Linked DNA regions of Homo sapiens: region 2 is linked to region 1. The links are contacts of gene promoters, found by promoter capture Hi-C in blood cells and fetal thymus (Javierre and others, 2016). All regions are on one chromosome and are shown on one strand. The core of a region is centred on a gene start or on the middle of the fragment in contact, and the rest is flanking DNA. Distances in the headings are between cores, read along the strand shown. Region 1 holds the start of MVB12B (multivesicular body subunit 12B). Region 2 has its middle 57 kb from the start of LMX1B-DT.

Evidence for each region. The method cuts DNA at HindIII sites, captures the fragments that hold promoters and counts their contacts. A CHiCAGO score of 5 or more calls a contact.
Region 2: a contact is called between a fragment that was not itself captured here and the fragment with the promoter of MVB12B in region 1, in 3 of 17 cell types (total CD8 T cells, naive CD4 T cells and naive B cells). The highest score is 7.1, in total CD8 T cells.

The regions. Positions count from the first base shown.
Region 1 is chr9:126,325,140-126,328,380 of GRCh38, forward strand. It overlaps MVB12B (multivesicular body subunit 12B), which reads left to right and starts at 1,690. Exons shown (of 10, transcript NM_033446.3): 1 at 1,690-1,871. The coding sequence starts at 1,791. RefSeq lists a silencer at 1,675-1,814 and an enhancer at 2,256-2,907. The HindIII fragment of the contact is 4,126 bases long and covers 1-2,930 here.
Region 2 is chr9:126,555,621-126,558,861 of GRCh38, forward strand. No RefSeq gene overlaps it. Among named protein-coding and RNA genes, the nearest start is that of LMX1B-DT, 57 kb to the right of the region's middle. RefSeq lists an enhancer at 1,266-1,842. The HindIII fragment of the contact is 1,176 bases long and covers 966-2,141 here.

The DNA of each region.
Region 1 (3,241 bases), core at 440-2,939:
AACTGGATTCAAATGGCTAAAATTGTATTTAATAGTTTTACGACTATTATATACTTAAATATATAGTGCAGATTCACATATTGAGGATTTATCAGTGAGCTTTAGAAGGTGGTCCTGGCTCAGATGAGTTTGGGAAATGCCAGGTTAAACAAACCAAACAGGTTTCTTTACTCCTGGACTTCACAGAGGCCTTCCTTAATATACGAATACTTATCGTGATTCTCCAAAAGGTACACTATAAACGGCATGCAGCACTTTCTCAAGTTGCCCACAGAAGCCCATTTTCAAAAAATAAATATTAAATTCTCTGGGGACTCGTGTTCTAGGTTAGTCATCTGCAGTTCTTTTTGGTATTGTCTGTTGGATTTTGGTATCAGGGTTATGCTAAACTTGGGAAATGAAATAAAAATTTTTGTTTCTTTTGTTTATTTTTTCCTGTGTAACAGTTTAAGTAACATAGGGATGATCTGTGCCCTGATGGGAGGATAAGGCTTGCTGTAAAGCCATCTGAACCCATGGCATTTCTGAGTAGTGAAGACACTGGGAATGCACACGTGCATGGCTTCCCTACAGGATGTTTCCCCCGACAGCCCATTCTGCTTGGCACCCTTCTCTTTAGGATCAAACAGCTATTATGGAAAAGCCTAGAATGTGTGAAAATGAGACTCAATGCATTAGCAAATCAATGCTGATCACTCCTGCATGGTCCTCAAGTCCTAACGAATGCTCCAGCCTCCTGGCAGGAAACCTTTCAAATCTTGCACACGCTGGCCTCTGCCTGGGGTGCCTGGCTGGGCGGTGTGGGGGGCATGGTTGGTTAAGGCGCAGAGTCCGCCTTTCCTACCAGCCACTCTAGCTGAGGGTCAAGCTCTGGACCCTCCCCCAACCATCCAGCTCCATTTTATCCTTGGCTTATGCCTTCCCCAAGTACTGCAGGGTAGGACTCCTGCTAAAAACTTCTTCTAGATGCTTGCCTGAGGCTGGCCCCATAAACCTGATTCTAGGCTTCTGGGGATAAATCATCTAACTAATATAAGAGAATTGCTAGGCAATTGGGGTTAGTTTGAGACGACTGGCTGAGCTCACCTTAGGTGAGCTGGGGGGTGGGGGAAGATGAGCTGAAGGATTCTAGGGTTCAGTGAAGCCTAGAATGGCTGGGTGGGCGGAGAGTCCTTAGAAGGGTCCAACTTCTAGCCTGAGGGCCTGGGGGCTTCCAGGGATCTGCAGCCGAGCGGAAGACCGGTCTTGCGTACAGCGAGGCCTACGAGAGCTAAGTGGGCTGAGGGTCCCTGGAAAAGACCAGCCTGGGGGCGGGGACCATCGATGCCCCAGGCTCTAGAGGCCGTGGGCTCCCGGGGGCCTGAGGCTGGACTGGGGTCGCCGGCGGGCTCGGGGAGGCCCGGGTGGGCGCACCGGGGCCCTGCCTGCGGCTGACGGGCTGGGTCGAGGGGGAGGCTGGGGAGGCGGGGTGCCGGCCGGGGCGGCGGCGCGGGCTCGGGACGCCAGGGCTCCCTCTCCCTCCTCCCGCCCGAGCCAGCCTCGGGCGCCGGGCGCCTCCCCCGATCCTGAACCAGCGCCAGCGCCGGGAGGCCCGGAGCCCGGCCCGCCGCCGCGGCCCGCGGAGGGAGCCGCCGCCGCCACTGCCGTTGTCGCCGCCGCCGCCAGGCCGCGCCCCGCCCCTCCGCCGCCGCCGCCGCCGCCGCCGCTCTCGGTGAGGCTCGCGCTCGAGCTGCGGCGCCGGCTCCTGCCGCCTGGGCCCCGGGCCCGGCCCCTCCCGCGCCGCCCGGGCGATGAGAAGCTGCTTCTGCGTGAGACGGAGCCGGGACCCGCCGCCGCCGCAGCCACCGCCGCCGCCGCCCCAGCGGGGAACAGTTAAGTGAGGCCCGGGCGCCGCGGAGGCTCGGCGGAGCCGGCCCTGCAGCCGGGAGGGCGGGCGGGCGGGCGCGGGCCCCCGGCCGAGGGGCGGGCGGACGGGAGGAGCCGGGCCGCGCCGAGGCCTGCGGGCTCCGTGCCCGGCCCGCGGCGGGGACAGGCCCGGGCGGCCTTTGCAGAGCCCCGAGCGCGCCGCGGCTGCCGGTGCCCGGGCTCGGCCTGGCGGCGAGAGGCGGGAGAAGCTGGGGGACCCGAGTGCCAGCAGCGCCCCCAAGGCCCGGGCAGGTGAGGGGCGCCGAGAGCCACCTCTGCCCGCGTGAGAGGGAGGCGGCCCACCTGGGCACAGACTGGGAACAGTCAATCGTTTGACCGGCCTGGCCTGGGGTCCTGCTCTCTCTGGTCACGTGGGTGCAGACCAACGTGCACCTGCCCCAGGAGCATCACTGCCTCTGTGACCTGGGCACAGCAGAGAGGACACCTAAACCCTCAGGCACCTGTCTGGAAGGTGACATGCCCAGCCTGGGTACCCGAGACCCAGAGCACCCATCCAGGAACATGGTGGGCACGTCGAGCACCCTACAGTGACTCCAACACCAGCGAGACGGGAGGAGCAGGGGCTGGGACAAGAGCTGAGGCATGGCACCAGGGGACATCACATCCTCAGAGGCAGGCACCAGGGAACGGGGTAGACCCAAGAGCATCTTTTGTCCTCTTTGTTACCAACACACAACTGTTCTAAATCAGCAGCCCTTCTCACCATGAAAGATGAGACTCTTCTGTTCCCTGCCCCTCAACACCTCTTGCACAAGGCACTGAGGAAGACCACAGGAGGGCAAAAGGCAAATGGTGGTTGCCCCTTCCCTGCTTCCTGCCCCCACCCAAGAACCAGAGCCCACTCCGATTGCTGCCACAAAAGCAGACAGCAGACCAGCTCCTCTTAGGGGCCTTTGTCTCTCGTGGTTCCTTCTCAGTATAATCTCATTGTACATTTCTCGACAGCTGGCTGGATCTCATCTCGTTTTAACAGGGCTGGGAAATCTTATCAGCGGCACCAGGAAAGCTTAGAGAGTTAAAAAATAAGCTCTGTGAAGCCTTGACTAACTGAAAAACTCAATGTGCTAGGATGTTTAGTTACAGTAGATGGTGACACCTTTCTTGCTTGTTAGAAATCATGTGGGGTCCTTGGAGATACTGTACCATGCTCAGAATCTTTAAATAGGGCCTCAGAGAGATGAGGCTTCTGCTTGGGACCCGGGCTCCAAGCCCCATGGGAAGCAGTTGACGTGGCGATTACTGGTTCATTTAAACCTAAACTTACCTTCTGTAATCCATATTTTTCATTCCTTCCTTCTAGGCTTTAGGTCACACT
Region 2 (3,241 bases), core at 304-2,803, 230 kb after region 1:
AGAAATAAGGTGCAGGCCGGGCATGGTAGCTCACATCTGTAATCCCAGCACTTTGGAAGACTGAGGCTGGCGCAGATCACTTGAGGTCAGGAGTTCGAGACCAGCCCAGCCAACATGGTGAAACCCCGTCTGTACGAAAAAACTACAAAAATTAGCCGGGTGTGGTGGCTCTCGCTTGTAATCCCAGCTACTTGGGAGGCTAAGGCAGGAGAATCACTTGAACCTGGGAGACAGAGGCTGCAGTGAACCTAGATGGCACCACTGCACTCCAGCCTGGGTGACGAGAGAGACTCCGTCTCAAAAAAAAAAAAAAAAAAAAAAGTAAGGTGCAGGTATTGTCCACGGAATGCTACCATTTATATAGAAGAGAAAAAAAGAAATAGCAGGTATTTGCAACCTGTAGACTCTCTCTGGAAATCTCTAAGTCCCCGGTATCAGTGGTTGCTTCTTGGGAGGGGCCAGGGACCTGTGGACAACAGGGGAGCGAAAGAGAGGAAGACAGACACTTCAAAGCCTTATTATCTTATTTTATACCACTTTTGAATTCTGTACCACATGCTTTTTATAATAGGATTTTTTTTTTTTTTTTTTTTTTTGAGAAGGAGTCTTGCTGTGTCACCTAGGCTGGAGTGTAGTAGCACGAACTCACCTCACTGCAAGCTCCGCCTCCCAGGTTCACGCCATTCTCCTGCCTCAGCCTCCCGAGTAGCTGGCACTACAGGCGCCCACCACCACGCCCGGCTAATTTTTTGTATTTTTAGTAGAGACGGGGTTTCACCGTATTAGCCAGGGTGGTCTCGATCTCCTCACCTCATGATCCGCCCGCCTCGGCCTCCCAAAGTGCTGGGATTACAGGCATGAGCCACCGCGCCCGGCCTATAATAGGATTTTAAAAAAGATAACATTTAGGGAATAAATCACCTGTTTTTCCAATATAATGGTTTTACTATTTTTCTTTGGTGTAAAGCTTTGTTGTCTATTCACCTGTGTTCAGATCCCAGCCCCCACCACTTCCTGGCTCTGGGCCTTGGCAAGGGGCTTCTCCCCAGGAGCCCCAGGATGGCAGCCCTGGGGGGAATGAGAATGACATGCGTTTGGTGCCCGGCACATGGCGGGTGCTCCCCCGTTCTGAGGGCCGCCCGCACACTCCGTTCAGCCTGGAGCCCCTCTCCCCCTGGTGTGGGCCGGGACCACTTCTGGCTTCAGCTGGGACCTTCTCTCCCCTTAGGAGTGGTCCTGACCAGCTCTGACCCCAGGCTTGGCCAGGGAGTCCCCCCATGGAGCAGGGACCTGGGAATAGCGGCCCCCAAAGAAGGAGTCCTCCTCTGAGGCTCAAGTCCCGGCAGCCCTCATGTCTCTGCCGGCATCTGAGGCCCATGTGTGCGCTCTGCTGGCCAGGGGTTTGGCTTCCTTGTTTTATGACTCCCTAATCCTCACTTGGCAGAGAGGAAGTGGTGGGCCCGCCTGGCCGCGCAGAGAGTGACCAGAGGATCGGCAAAGGAAAGATTCATGGACCATCAGAAGGGCCCTTTGCCTCCGAGGCCGCCCCAGCCCTTCACGTGGAGATAAATCACAGGCAGCAGGGAAAGATAAAAGGTGCGGGGATGCAAGCCCTGTCTTACGAGAAGAAATGTGCGCAGGGGACGTTTCCCTGAACTCCTGCAGAGCTGGACTGCTGACGTCTCCACGGGCTTCCTAACTCGGACTGGAGGGGACTCGAGTCCACTCCTTGTCTTCTCCATCCCATTGACTTCACAAGGCCCATCCCTTCAGGCCCCTAGCATGGTACTGACCTTGAGATGACCCTGAGACCCATTCCTCACACTTCTTCCTCCGATCCAAAAGATCTGGCTTGGAGGGCATTGGACCTGTGTGGTCACACAGACCCTGGAACTCAGAAGGGTCCTGCCCCTGGCTTAATACTCTCCTGTCATTGTGTTGAAATTCTTAGTAATTCTGGAGCGGACATTCCCACACTTCATTTTGCTCTGGGTCCTGCCTGGCCAGGAGTGGCTTTGGGCATCTGGGTGCCCGTACATCCTCTCCAGCAGACGCCTACCAGGCACAGTTTGCACATCTCCGGCAATGAGGAGCTCACCTCCTCCTGGGCAGCCCCCCCAAGTCCACCATAGAGCAACAGAAGCTTGGAGGCCCTATCTCATGGTGGTGACAGGAATGGGTCCCAGGTCACCTTCCAGTCTTGGTGCCTCACTGGCTGTGTAACCTGGGGCATGTTATGGCGCCTCAGTTTCCGGTCTGCAGAATGAGGCTAATAATAGGGCTGTTGTGAGAATGAAACAATGTATTTGGCTTAATTTTGTGCTTAATCAATGATAGCTGTTTTTGTATTTTACTAGAAAAGGCTGCCTTCCAGCAGATTGGGATCCTTAGGCCTGGCCAGTGGTTAGGGGGAGAAGGTGCAAAAAGATGCATAACCACCACCACCACCCCCAACCACCACCCCCAACCCCCATTCCCCTCCCCCCCCCCCGCTCCCCCGCAACACACACAGCCAGAAGCTCCCCTTCTTTTGCCAACCTTGAAGGTCAAACCTGCGCACTTCACCTGGGCTCCACCGGTCAGGTGCCTTGTTCTCTGCTGCCATCTGCTGGCTGGTATGGGGCACTGCATCACAGCTGGCACCAGGCTTCATTTGTCCCCTTGGAAGAGGATCAAATAATTCTGCAAGTGTTTTCTGAGGACCTGCCTGGGCATTGAGGATTTGTCAGTAAACACAAAAGACAAAGTTCCTGCCCTCTTGGAGCTGACACTTCTGTGTGAGACATGGATAATAAGCAAGAAATCCAATCATGTGATTTCTGCTAGTAACAAGCAAAATTAAAAGAAGAAAAATTTCAGACAGTGGGGAATGGCACTGGTGGACGGTAGGATAGTTTGTTCTGGGGCAGGGTCAGGAGAGAACAGGCTGAATGGTGGTCAGGTGGGACAGGAGAGCTCTGCTATCCAGCCAGTCCCACCAGCCCGGCTGCCTGCCCCCCACTGCTGCAATCTCTGTGACAACTGTGGGCAACTCCCTCTGCTGACCAGGACCTCAGTTTCCTTATCTGGAACACAGGGAGAATCACAGCCACTTCTCGAATTAGTACTGTTGTTTGGATTTAAAGGGATCCTGGAGGGGGAAACGTTTTGTGAAGTGTATTGTTCTCGTGAATTATATGCTTCGTGTTGTTAGCTGATGCTTGCTATGCACTTAACAGTGCAGAAACTCTGTTAAGCCCTT